Regions from separate parts of the Homo sapiens genome. Here all the other regions are linked to region 2. The links are contacts of gene promoters, found by promoter capture Hi-C in human tissues and cell types (Jung and others, 2019). All regions are on one chromosome and are shown on one strand. The core of a region is centred on a gene start or on the middle of the fragment in contact, and the rest is flanking DNA. Distances in the headings are between cores, read along the strand shown.

Region 1 (4,476 bases), core at 1,554-4,053, 44 kb after region 2:
CCTGGAACAAACTCAATAGCGCCAGCAGCACTCAGTTCTCCCTAGGCCACTGCCCAGGCTCTCCCTCATGTCTGACAACTCCACGGGGAGACAATCAACGGTGACAAGCTTAAGATCGAGGCCACTGTCACATCAATTGATTTCCTTAACAGACATCTTAAATCTAGGTGAAGATCATGATGGCAGCTCCACAGATTTGCAACATGGATGCATCTTCCTACACAGACGCTCTTAAGTATCTGACAAAGTCATCTGAAATAGAAGTAGTGACCAGCACTCAAAGATAGCACATATGAGCGGCTCAGTCAATCACTGTGAGTCCAGGGATGCAAAACACCTTCTGAAGCCTTGACATCTTTCTCCCATCCAGACTCCTTCTCCAAGTGCCTTGCAGTATTCTTGTAGGGGATAAAGACAAAATGAAGTGTGCAGAAAGGTGTTTCAGCAGAAGCAAGGGGGCACGCTGGTCACAGCAAGGAGGATTAAAACAGAAAACAGAGCGGCCGGGCGCGGGGGCTCACGCCTGTAATCCCAGCACTTTGGGAGGCCGAGGCGGGCAGATCACGGGATCAGGAGATCGGGACCATCCTGGCTAACACAGTGATGCCCCGTCTCTACTAAAAATACAAAAAATTAGCTGGGCGTGGTGGCGGGCGCCTGTAGTCCCAGCTACTTGGAAGGCTGAGGCAGGAGAATGGCGTGAATCCGTGAGGCAGAGGTTGCAGTGAGCCGAGATTGCACCACTGCACTCCAGCCTGGGCGACAGAGCGAGACTTCGTCTCAAAAAAAAAAAAAAAAAGAAAAGAAAAGAAAAGAAAAGAAAATAGAAAGACCCTTCCTTGGTGGCCATTGATTCCACCTCACTGCACAGCTGTGGGAGGAGGGAGGGGCATTTGCTCTGGGGCAGTGGTCCTCACCCTCGGCACTGTTGACATTTAGGGCTAAAGGATTCTTTGTTGGGGTGTTGCGGGAGCTGTCCTGTGCCTCATAGGATGTTGAGCAGCATCCTTGGCCTCTACTTAGGGGATGCCAGTAGCAGCCACTTCCCAAGTTATGATGACCAAGAATGCCTCCAGCCATTGCCCAGTGTCCCCCAGGGTTGAGGACAGGCGCCCCAGGAGTGTCAGGATGCAGAGGGGACTGTGCCCAAGCCTGTGCCTCAGAGACCCTGCCTAGTCAATCTCCTCCTCCACTCAGTTGATTTCTTAGGCCCCGTGTGCCTGAGAAAAGACAGCTGCCAGGGGCTCCCTTCTATACAACACAGGAAAAATGCACAGGAGGCTGACAGGCATATTTTTGAGGTTCTCCCACATGCAACTTTGTGAGGAAGTAGAACAGGTGGCATTATCCCCTTGTTCACAGCTGAGGCAGTGAGGGCTCCTGCACACAGTCCCACCTCCTGCCCGCCTCGCCACAGGGTTTTGCTCCTGAAAGGCCCTCCGTACACTTCAGTTTCATGTGAACCACTGAAATTTTACAGACGCTGATTTTAGTAATGACATCGTTATTCTCCCAATCATCTTGAATCTAAATTGCAGCATGTTTAACTTCTATCCTTCCATATCCAACCATCTATAAAAAAACAAAAACAAAACACACTCCACGAAAACACTGAAGCGTTACAGAAGCTAACTCTGCAATGCCGCCATGTCATTTGCTCCTGTCAGGTTCCAGGGCTGCTGCGCAAACTCACTGCCTTTTGCTCACATTCTTCTGCCTGCCTCCTGTCTCGGTTCCTCCATTGCTCCAGGCTGCTTCCAGAATCATCTTACTGAAAAGCCACCCAACCCTGCCACTGCTCCGCTGAAAAGCTTTCAGCCTCGGGGCCTGGAGGATAAAGGTCAAACTTCCCAGCACTGCATCCGAGGTCCTCCCAGTGCTGACCCAACCATCTGAGACTTCTCCCTCAGCACTCCTTCCCTCTTAAGAAACATAGAAAGCTGGTATTTCCCCTGCTCCCAGGCTTTGTATTGTCATCCTACCTATCTTCAAAGCCTACCCGACAGACCATCTCCCACATGATGTCAACCCTACACTTCCAGGTTAGAATTGGTTCTGCCATGTCTGTGCTCGCAGCACATCGCTACTGTCAAAGTTAGCACAGCTCAGCCAGCTCCTGATCCGGTGTGTATATCAATAGCTACTCTCCTAGACTGCCTATCCCTCAAAGATTTTGTGTGGCTCCCTTCCTGGCTGGCTGGTTGGCTTCCTTCCTTCCTTCCTTCTTTCTCTCCCTTCCTTCCTTCCCTTTTCTCCCTTTCTTCCCTCTTCTTCCTTCCTCCTTCCTTCCCTCCCTTCCTCCTTCCCTTTCTTTCTCCCTCCCTCTCTTCCTCTCTCCCTTCTTCCTTCCTTCCTTCCTCCCTCTCCTTCCTCCTTTCTTCCTTCCCTCCTCCCTCCCTCTCCTTCCTCCCTTCCTCCCTCCCTCTCCTTTTTTCCTTCCTTACTCCTTTCCTTCCCCCACAGCATCAAGCAGTCTCTTGTACATTGCAGGTACGCAGTAAATGCTTATCACATTTAATTTAAATCACTTAAGTCAAAAATGTTTCCTGCTCTTTGGCTCCAGTGCTATATCCTATCTGTGAGTGACTTCTGAACAAACAATAGAAGGAATGGCATGAGATAATAAATCCTAGTGGGGGAGATTCATCTAATCCTATCTATCAAGCACTGGAAAGATTCCTTCCATTTCAGGCTCAATCGATGGTCACCAGACAGTGACAAGGAGCCTGCTATCCATGAGGCAGAACCCTCCTTCACTGGGTAGCTCAAATGACTGGACATTCTTGTATTAAACTGAAATCTTTTTTCTCCTCAAAATGCATCCCTCTGGAGTTACACAGCATGCATATGATCCCTTCAACAAGACGGCCTTCCAGCAGCTGGAGCCAACCATGCGCTCCCCTAAGTTCTGCACTCAGCTCTTTCAGTCTTCCCACGGAGGCCATCATTTCTAGCTATTTCACCACTCTCCACTTATCTCATCCATCCCTCCCAGCCTCACGGCCATCCTCAGGATGTCTTCCTGTCTGTCAAGACTCTTTTCGGCAGGAGCCCCACTGAACATAATGCTTCCATCAAGGCCAATCAAGGACTTCACAAAGGAATTAATATCTTCCAGTTCAGTATGCCAAAGCTGAATTACAGCCAAATAAGACTGAATTCATTTTATTAGCCACAAACCACACTGTTGGAGCAGACAGAGTTATTGAACAAAACCCTCTAGTCTTTTAAAAAATGAAGCAGTGTTACAGCAAATCCTCCCCAGCCTATATGCATGGCCATTTTAACAGCTAGAGTAACAAAACAAAGAAGTACACAAAGCCCTAAATACAAGGCTTCTGGGATTGTCAGATTTTACTGCTGATTTTTACATTCAACAGTTCAGCTGTTGCACAGTTTTCTTTTTATCATCTCCAAATTCTGTAGGTAGGGACTGTCTGTCTCCAACCACATCTCCAGCAGAGATCCAAAATAAAGATCTCCTGGGTGTCTTCATGCACTCCATATGCATAGAAGCGACTCCACTGGGGAGAACAGCATCTCATAGGGGAAATGGCTTTCTCTGGTTTGCTTAGATAAACTCTCTAATTAGGTCAGCTAGTCTGATGACATGAATTAAAGCCATCCAGGCTCCACAAATACAATAATTCAATTAAGGAATAACAGAACCCGACTTTCTAAGCAATAATACAATTTTAGATCACAAGTGAATGCAAAGTAGAGAGCAACTGGATTATCAGAGTCCTGACGAAACAGAGGGTGCTCAGAACCTAGTTTTGGGGGAATGTAGAATTCAGCCTCTCTCCAGAATGTGCTAAATGTAGTAAGATGCAGTGGTGCTCAGTTAGGCTCTCCGATGGAAAGGTGCAACATTTAGCAAACTATCGGGACTGTGTTCATATGAAAATATTAAAAGGAAAATCTTAACTAGGAAATTTTAATGTAAAATGATTTATGAGTCTGAATAATAAAAAAATTTAACTGAAGTTTTCCATTAAAATTGGCTAAAAGTCTTAGAATTAATGGCAACATTAACATAATTGTTAAGTGTTTAATATGAGAACATATTTTGAGAGTACTTTCCTCTCATAATCTTTTCTACTCTATTTCATCATCTTTGGTAGTTCAGAACAAGGGCCAAGTATACTACTAGCTTTAAAAGACAAATTAATTTCAGCATTTTCCCCAACAAACGCAAGCTTTTTAAAATGGGTTTACCGGCTAGGTGTGGTGGCTTAGGCGTTTAATCCCAGCACTTTGGGAGGCTGAGGTGGGAGGATGGCTTGAGGCCAGGAGTTCGAGACCAGCCTGGGCAACATGGCAAGACCTCACCTCTAAAAACATTAAAAAATTAGCTGGGTGTAGGCCGGACGCGGTGGCTCATACCTGTAATCCCAGCACTTTGGGAGGCCAAGGCAGGCGGATCACCCAGTCAGGAGATCGAGACCATCCTGGCTAACATCATGAAACCCCGTC
Region 2 (4,852 bases), core at 1,275-3,774:
CCCAGGCTGGAGTGCAATGGCGTGATCTCGGCTCACTGCAAGCTCCACCTCCCAGGTTCATGCCATTCTCCTGCCTCAGCCTCCCAAGTAGCTGGGACTACAGGCACCCACCACCACGCCCGGCTAATTTTTTTTTGTGTTTTTAGTAGAGACGGGGTTTCACCGTGTTAGCCAGGATGGTCTCGATCTCCTGACCTCGTGATCTGCCCACCTCGGCCTCCCAAAGTGCTGGGATTAAAGGCGTGAGCCCCCGCGCCCGGCCACTTTGTTTAAATATTAAAGATATGCCACACACCACAGCAGCTGACCATGTGCTTCAAATGGGCCATTCAGACAGTTGTTTGTATCTAGCAGGACCCAGTGAAGGGCCATCTCCCCATAGCCTTGTAGGCTCACAGCCCCAGGTCCCTATCTTTTGGCAGCTGGAAGTGGTTCTGCTCAGTTTGGGGGCCCTCCATTCCCACCTCAAAATGCCATAGAAAGTCTTGATCTTACCCCTGGAGGAACACCTGCCCAATAAAATCTTTGCGATAGTTAGACCCTAATAAAGTGCTGTGCACGTTTTCCATGTTTGTGAAACATGGAAATTCCATGAGTTTTGACAGGGCAGGTGCTGAGCAACAGCCTTCTGTGGTTTTGTTAGCTCAAGTGAAAGGAAAAGCTCTTCTCCAATTTGGGTGGGCACCAGAACCACCTGTGAGGTTTAAAATCTGTGGATTTCTGGGCCCCTTCCCCCAAGACTGTTCAAAAGGTCTAGGATGAACCCAGGAATCTGCATTTTAAAACAGCCCCCCGCCTCCTGCCCCACATGAGTCTGATGGGTAGGTCGTCAACGACCGTCACTTCAAGAAAAACCTTCCTGGATGCTGAATCCTAGGAAAGATCCCAGAGGTGGTCTAGCCCAACCCCCTCAGGTTTTAGAAGGAGAAACTAAGTTCCGACTGGGGAGAGTACTCATCCAAGGTTACAGAGCCCACACCAGGATATTCAAGGTGACCAGGCCTGGAGGCAGGTGACATCAAATATTTGTTGATTGGTAACATGCAGCCCTTCAAAAGCCAGGAGACCAGGAGACTCCCTCTCCTCCTCCTCTTCCTCCTTCTCCTCCCTCCTCCACCCACTTGGCCTTTTCTTTTGGCCTTTTCCTTTGCTATTATTCTTCTCCTCCTTCTTCTCTTTCTCCTCCTGCTTTTTTCCTCCTCCTCCTTCTCTTCTTCTCCTTCTCCTCCTCCTCTTCCTTCTTTTCTCTCTCTCCTCTCCACTATTATTTTCTAGAACTCATCCATAGCCTAAGAGTATATAGACCCCTCTCTTTTCTGCTCCCAAGGTACACACTGGACATGGTACCCAGGCATAGGAGAATACAACTTAGGTCAGCAATGGATACAGCACCCAAGGCCACCATTATCCTTGTTGGAGTCTAGAAGCCCTAGTGGGACACTCAGCCTCCATGAGCTGGTGCACTGAATGAGGCAGCATCTTTTTGGACAGCCACAAAGTGAAAGTAACAGCCTCGTCGTATTCCAGGCCCTACAGGATAGAAGCCCAGATCCCCACACTTGCGGGTTGAGGCCAGACTGGACAGCTTGGAGCCGACTGGGAGCCGACTGGGCTCCCCATTCCGGGCCTCCCCACTCCTGGCCTCCTCCATGGAAAAGCTGCAGGAAGGCAGCAGCCCAGAGGCCTGTAGCTGGTGAGGTCTTCTCCTCTCCTGGGAGAGAGCTCCATGTCAAAGCATAGCCCCCTTCTGCCCCACTATGGGGCCACTGGGACCTGTGAATCTTCTTCATTCAGAGAAATGCCTGCTATCCGGGGTGCCAGATAAGACACCTTCCCTCAGACAGAGCTCAAGGAAGGTGGCATGAAATTGAAACCTTCAGCCATGAACTTCCATTGCCCTTCCCCCAACACTCATACATGCTTAATTTGCAGTTTAAAAAAGAACATTAAAATTAACATTTCGACTCAACAGCGTTGTTAACACGAAAGGGGAAGCCTGGCTCTTCCCCGACCATAACTGAACACCAGTGAAGCAGAAATTACTGGTAGTTGAGGAAAAATATAAACCCTGACGTCTGCGGGCAAAGATTCACAGTGGAGATTAACTCATGATTCTAAACACATTTTTAAAAATTATTAGCGAACAGCTGGGGCCTGAGGAGAGTGATTCTTACGAATGTCCATTTGCCCCAGCATTTTGTTCTCAAATCCTTCCACCGAAACACTCTTGTTTTCAAAGTGAGCAGCACGGGCAACAGGCAAAGGAATCAGGCCTCGGAAGCTCTCAACACCAGAAAGGCCTAAAATAGACCAAAAGACCGGAGGCCTGCCACCGCAGCCCCCAGCAGCGCATTCCGGAAAATTAAAACTCGCCGATCCGCTCGCAAGGTGCCCGTCTAAAACCCAGCCCAATAGTACCTTCTGCAAAGAGGACACAGATCACAGGAACCACGACTGTCTAAGACGTCTCCCCGGGTGGCCGCGAAGGGACCCCACCGAGCCGGGAAAGCAGGAGCGAAGGAGCACCCTCTCCACACACACCGACACACATCCCTTCCCCTTACTGCCCCTCCCCGACCCGTCCTCCCCCCACCCTCCTTCTGGGCCAATGTGATAGCAGCAGCTGAGTCGACCAGTCATTTCTAAAATTAGCTTGTGAGCTCCAGGTCTGGCCAGGAGACGGCAGCCCGGGGTGGCCGTTGACCAGGCAGCAGAGACCATGGACATATTTGGTGGCCCCTGAGCAGGGAAGGGGACAGCTCTGGACACAAGCACATGCTCTCTCGTCATCCCTGTCCCAGGGCAGGGCCACACACCCACACTCCCGCCTCTGCCCACACAGATAACCAGAGGTTGCAGGAACTGTTTGAGGAGGAGAGCTGGCCGGTTCTACATTCCAGGCAGACTCTGGAAGAAAATAACTTGAATGAATGCTGGTGCGTCGTGGTAAACAACCAGTGCATGTAAACATACCTTATGCTTAGGTAGTGGTTATCGCATGCCACACACCGAGGGCTTTCATGAACTCACTTAATGTTCCCTATGAGGTAGGGTTTTTCCCCAGCCCCACTTTACAAGTGGGGAAATTGAGACACAAAAAGTTAACCAACTTGCCCAAGGCCATGGAGAGCCAGAATTCAAACCCAGGCTGTGCGGGCCGTAGAGGAAACAGACACAACAGCAAACTAGGGGCTATAAAAAAGTGCTTTGGGCCTGGCACGGTGGCTCACGTCTGTAATCCCGGCACTTTGGGAAGCCGAGGTGGGCATATCACGAGGTCAGGAGATTGAGACCATCCTGGCTAACACAGTGAAACCCCGTCTCTACTAAAAATACAAAAACAAAATTAGCCGGGCGTGGTGGTGGGCGCCTGTAGTCCCAGCTACAGGCGGAGCTTGCAGTAAGCCGAGATCGCGCCACTGCACTCCAGCCTGGGTGACAGAGAGAGACTCCATCTCAAAAAAAAAAAAAAAAATCAGCTGGGTGGGGTAGTGGTTGTCTGTGATCCCAGCTACTTGGGAGGCTGAGGCAGGAGAATTGCTTGAACCCAGGAGGCGGAGGTTGCAATGAGCTAAGGTCACGCCACTGCACTCTAGCCTAGGCGATAAGAGACTCTATCTCAAAAAAACAACAACAAAAAAAGTGCTTTGTCCACTGCCTAAAAGGAGCAAAGTACAGACTTCAATAAATTGGATAAACCATGCAGGTCCATGCAGCTAGCAAAGGGTAGAGTCATGACTCAAATCCAAGTCTTTCTGGTTCCAAAGACCGCAATCAGCCCAGCATGATACTGCTCCTGTGAGAATTGTTTCAATAATTGCTATGTGGTGCTGCTCCTCTTTCCCCAGAGCTCATCGAGCAATATTTTCCCAAAGTACTCACTTCTGCCGAGGTCTTGAAAATTAGCATTCAATCAGAAGTTCATTGAAACACTAAGGGAAGGCTGCTTAGAAAATGGCAGTCTAGGCCGGGTATGGTGGCTCACACCTGTAATCCCAGCACTTTGGGAGGCTAAGGCGGGTGGATCATTTGAGGTCAGGAGTTTGAGACCAGCCTAGCCAACATGGTGAAACCCCACCTCTACTAAAAATACGAAAATTAGCTGGGCGTGGTGGCGGGCACCTGTAATCCCAGCAACTCGGGAGGCTGAGGCAGGAGAATAGCTGGAACCCAGGAGTCAGAGGTTGCAGTGAGCAGAGATGGCGCCATTGCACTCCAGCCTGGGCGACAAGAGCAAAACTACATTTTGAAAAAAAAAAGAAAAGAAAAGAAAGAAAAAGAAAATACAATATACATAATATACATGAGGTTGAGGAGGGGTCCCTGCGGCCCCCAGTGGAGAGTGGCATGGGACATTTAGGCCACACCAGGGGAAGAGTTTGGAGACAGGTCCCGGTGAGCTGTTTTCTCCAGGTTGTGCTAGATCATTTGACATTGAAACAAGAACCTCCCTTCTCCCGCCCCTTGCATCACAAGTCCTGAACCATTGGCTCCTGGGCTTTTCTGTCCTTGCTGTCTTTCCGACGCTGTTGGTCTGAAGTGGTAGAGTTGACATGCAGAAATGATTCTCTGGGCCCAGGGCTGGGACTCTCTATAGGCCATGACCTGCAGTGATGGTTCCGTTGACTTGAAGGGACCTCCGTTCCCCAAGGAGTCAACATGGCATGTGTTTGCTCCATTCACCTTGTTGGTACCTGTGGTGGGTGGATTTTTGCTACACAAGATGACCAAGTATTACCTTGAGCACACGGTGATTTAGGGCAGCCCTTATAAGCAAGATTTTGTCACCCAGCTGAGCATTTACTGTCCAGTCTCCAGGCTTCATTCCCCAGGCTGGGGGAAAAGACGAGAA
Region 3 (4,792 bases), core at 1,049-3,548, 61 kb after region 2:
AGACAAGCCACAGGATGGGAGAAGATATATGCAACCCATAAATACACAAAGGACTCATATCTATAATATACAAAGAACTTTAAAAAATCAACTTAAAAAAGTCAACCAACCCCCAGAAAAATGGGGAAAAAAAATAGGCAATTCACGTAAGAGGATACCACATAGCCCCCAAACTAATGAACAGATGCTCAACCTCGATGTCTCCAAGGTAACGCAAATTAAAACTACAATATGCCATCACTAAACCCACGAGAACAGCTAAAAAGAAAAACACTGACGATACTGAGTGCTGGGAAGATATACAGTGAATAGAACTTTCATATATGGCCACTGGAAGTGTACAACGAATGGTGCAGCCACTTTAGCAACCCATTTGGTGATATCTACCAAGGCTGAGTGTCACTTGCAAGCTTTCTGACATAGTGATTTCACTCCCAGGTAGACATCTAATAGCAATCTGTACTTATGTGCACCAAGATACCTGGACAAGAATATTCAAAACAGCATCATTCAAAATAGCACAAGCCAGGAAATAACCCCAATGTCTACCAACAGTAGAATGGATAGTATGGTATATTTATACACTAGAATGCCATATAGATCATGGATCAGCAAATGTTTTCTGCAAAGGGCTAAAAAGTAAATATTTTAGGCCTTGCAGGCCGCATATAATCTCTGTCATCTATTATTCTTTGCTTATTTTCTTTACAATCCTTTAAAAATGTAAAAACCATTCTTAGGTAATGGGCTCTATAAAATAAGGCCAACAAGCTAGACTTGGCCTGAGCCACACCTGGCTTTCTGACCTCTGCTGCACAGCTACAGGAGGGAGTTACAGCCGTGGGCAACACCACAGATGAATCTTGTAAGCAACATGGAGTGAGAGAAGCCAAACACAGAAGGGCACATTTATAAAGTTCAAACACAATTTGCAAAGCTAAAATATGCTGTTAGAAATCTGGGTAGTAGTTAAGTTGGGTGCAGGGTTAGTGACTGGGAGAGGCACAAAGAGATTTCTAGAATACTGGTAACTTTCCGTCTCTTGATCTGGGTGCCGGAGATGCGTGTATTCCCTTATGAAAATTCATCAGTGCTATGCTAGATCTATTAGCTCTATTTAGATCTATTTTATCTATGAAATCCACTTAGATTCTTTACATAAAGTGTATACTTGTCACTAAACTGATTCAGTTTTTAAAATGGCCTAGATTGTCTATATCTTGTTTCTTAACGAACACAAAAAATTATTAAATTCCAAAGAAAATGTTCAAATTTCAACATAATCTGTAAACAGAATTTGCATTGTTAAAGCTAACAGCTCAAGACCACATCCCTAGGAGGCTCAGCCCCCCTTAAAATGACTGCCTCAGAGAAATCAAGGCTTCCCAAAGAATTTTTATTTGTTCCAGCAAACACTCAAAGATAGAGCCCCTATCTCCGAGCCTCCATGGGAGGGTAGGAGTCTAACTTGGATAAGTCCCAGTTAGCAAACCCAGATGGGTCCCATATGGACCATGCCCCTTCCTGCATTGTAAAATTCTTCACTTCCTTGACTCTGCTCCAGCCCGCATTGCACTCCACAGGCCACTGTCCCTTTAAAACATCCGGTCACCTCTGCACAAGTCAGAATGGAGCTCCATTATTTCTCTTACTGTCTAGTCATTACCAAATAAATGCTGTTTTAATTACCAAATAAATGCTTTAACTAAAGTCCAACTATATTTATCTTTGACTCGATGTAAAATAAACACGCAGGTGAAGGAATCAGATGTGGTTATCTCTACAGAAATCAGTTACTGCAACCCTCACCTCTCGGGGTGCTGAACAGACACTATAATGGGTTTCATGTGGAGTCCAGGACACAACCGAATACTGACCAATATGAAAAAATAAGTGGCAATTTAATGAAGGGTGGGATACAGTTCCAAGGATAATTATGGATAAGACGGCCTGCCTTGATTACAAGTCAGAATAAAAGTGGATTTTTAGAAGTAGACCATTAAGTAAAACTCTTGAGCAAGGAACTGTCTACTTTGATTTCCTACTAAAAGTCAACAAAATAGCTTACATTTTGCAGGAACTCGCCATAAAAAAACTGTGATAAAACAGGACCATGAAGTCGTTGTTGAAGAAAATCCTCCACACTGCAGCCGGAGCAATCTTTGTGAACTGCAAGGCTGATTATGGTCTCTCTCTAGTTAAAACACTTGGTTTCTAACTGCAGTCAGATCATTTAGGCTCCTCAAGATCGGCCGGCGATGCCCTTCACGGTCTGGCCTGGCCTTCATGTCTCTCTCCAGCTTTGTCTTGCACGACTCCCCCCACCACCGCAGACCCTGGCCCCTCATCTGATTCCCCCAACCTCACGTGCCTGGGCTCAGAGGAGCCACGTGCACTGGCTCCTCTCCAGGTAACCCCCAACTTCAGAAAGGCATTCGCTGACCCCATCTCCACCCTGCGAAAGGCCTTCCGAGCACTGTGTGCCTGTCTTCCATAGCTCTTGCCACAGGTCCCAGTTGTCCATACATTTCCGTCATCATTTGAATAATACATCTTTTCCCTTTCCATGCAGCTGTATGAGAACTAAGAACTGGGACCACAGTCCCAGCTTGCCGCAGAGTGCCTGGTTCAACCTAAATCCTCAACTGTGGTTCAGGGAATAAATGAGTCACGCTTCTGAGGAACTTAAATGACTGACTGGATGAATTGCTGACTGCTCTTCACAGCTGTGGACACGCTTATGCTGGTTCTCCAACATGCATATTTCCTTTTTTGCCATCTGAGAATTACAGAAGAAAACCGGGAACAGTACTTCCTACTGTCTTTTGGGGAGATGGGTAGGAATACTCAAGTTGAGATTAAAAAAAAAAAAAAACCTTCCAGTAAAAAGAAAACTGTGGTGAGTGAATGCATTTCAGTTACATGTCCACAATACGGGAAAGCCTGCCGATACAGTCTGATCAAAAGCTTCACTTAATGAGGGTATTTTCAACTAAGTTTTATTAAAAACTATAGAAAGTATCCCCTGATTAGCAAAAACAATTCCAAATAACTTTACTATAATTATTTTTGTTAAATTATGCATTTATAAATTTTAAAAATACCATACAGTTTTGATATCTAAATAAAATACAAATAATTCTTTTAAATTAGTTCAAAGTGATAGCCCAAAATAACCCTAATTTTTTAATTTACTCTTTTAGGGTTACACCAGTGAGAAACTACACAACCACTTAACCACATCTCCTCTCACCTGAGTCAAATCAATATAAAAATATTACATGAAAACTATACTTATGTTTTTCCAACATTAAAACGTTTATTTTCTATAGGCTTTCTTGAGAATAAATATCCAAGGCTTTGAGATAACTCACTGAAAATTAATATTTTAATAACCACTTAAAATCTTCATCCAGTACTCACATCCACGTTTGAAATTTAGGATACAGACATTTCCAATAGAAATTAAAAGCCAATGCCATTCACACTGACTCCAACAGAGTATGCAGGATGCTTGGTTTCCATTCTCATCAGTTAAAAACTTGGTCACACACACAAAGCAACTCTTATTTGAAATGCTTAATGCCCATACAGTGGGAGGTCAAGGCACATAATTAGAAATTATTTATGGCTATGGGGTTTCCATTTGTTGTAACTTAGCTACATTATGCTATTCTTTTGCTTCAATAGCAAATACCTCTTCCAGAAACACTTTAATGACAGAATAATATAAACCATAATACAATAAATACAGGTGACAAACGAAAAAACATACAGCCTATAAAGTGATGATAAAAGGAGCACTGGCCAAAAAGTCTAGAGATTTGGGGAAGGAAATTAACCTCTCTAGGTCTCAGGTTACTTGCTCAGCAGTTGAAAGGGATTCTTTCATTACCCACTAAAATTTGGTTTTTTCAGATCCTTTTGGTGAAGACCTTACTTAAAATCCAGCCATGGGATCTAGAAGTCTCGCACATTTCTCACTGAATATAAACCTTCCTGGCTGGAGTATCTACGGTTTCATTCACATGTGGGGTACACAGTTAGTTAGTGTCTGGCCCCTCCACGCTCACCCCATGCCTCTCCCTCTCTGTCCTGACTCCCTAACCCACTCTGAACACCAGGTCACAGCCATACCAGTGCACACACGCTGTAACAGGGTACTGAGAGGACGGGTTTTTTGGATGTGTCTTCACATACACTGGCATCTGTACAGACACATAAAAGCTGAGGTTTTGATCTTGGGTAATACCATTAACAGAAAAAGAAATTGGAATGGGCAGCTATTTAGTAAGTAAAGAAGATGTAGGGTAAAAGTGGGGTCACACATGTTGAGCTAAAAATGATAGCTTAATATACAAAGAAAGTGTCCAATAAGTAGAAATATGGTGCTAGAAATGGAAAGGCTGATAAACAGAGTAGCAGGTAGTGAGAGGCAGGTAAGATCACCTTCCAGTGAAACGCTGACTAGGGACAATCTCAAAAGGACAATTCGGATGTGAGTAATCCAAGTCGCTTCTCTCGATTCGCTTCTGAAGGACAGAAGCCACTTTTCTCTTACTTTTCCCCTCTAGGTTAGTCCTTCTTGCCAGTCGTTTAGTCAGGTCTTGACTATATTCCAGTGATTTTTCTGGCTATCATTATTTTCTGCCATCTCTACTACCATATTCTGCAAAGAAGGAAGTCAAGGACAAATAAATAGGCACTAAACGGAGAAGCCATGGGTGTGCATAATGGAGGTGGCTGGTGTTCTTCTAACTTGCAAAATCAAATAAAGAGATACTATCAGATT

Evidence for each region. The method cuts DNA at HindIII sites, captures the fragments that hold promoters and counts their contacts. A contact is called where the count stands out against the background at its distance.
Region 1: a fragment that was not itself captured here is called in contact with the fragment with the promoter of MYO18B in region 2 in 1 of the 25 tissues and cell types used here (spleen).
Region 3: a contact is called between a fragment that was not itself captured here and the fragment with the promoter of MYO18B in region 2, in 1 of the 25 tissues and cell types used here (dorsolateral prefrontal cortex).

What each region holds. Positions count from the first base shown.
Region 1 is chr22:25,696,023-25,700,498 of GRCh38, reverse strand. All of the region lies in intron 13 of GRK3 (G protein-coupled receptor kinase 3), which reads right to left. Among named protein-coding and RNA genes, the nearest start is that of MYO18B, 44 kb to the left of the region's middle. The HindIII fragment of the contact is 3,686 bases long and covers 961-4,476 here.
Region 2 is chr22:25,739,860-25,744,711 of GRCh38, reverse strand. It overlaps MYO18B (myosin XVIIIB), which reads right to left and starts at 2,524. Exons shown (of 44, transcript NM_032608.7): 1 at 2,419-2,524. The HindIII fragment of the contact is 19,978 bases long and covers 1-4,852 here.
Region 3 is chr22:25,679,033-25,683,824 of GRCh38, reverse strand. All of the region lies in intron 9 of GRK3 (G protein-coupled receptor kinase 3), which reads right to left. Among named protein-coding and RNA genes, the nearest start is that of MYO18B, 61 kb to the left of the region's middle. The HindIII fragment of the contact is 4,338 bases long and covers 130-4,467 here.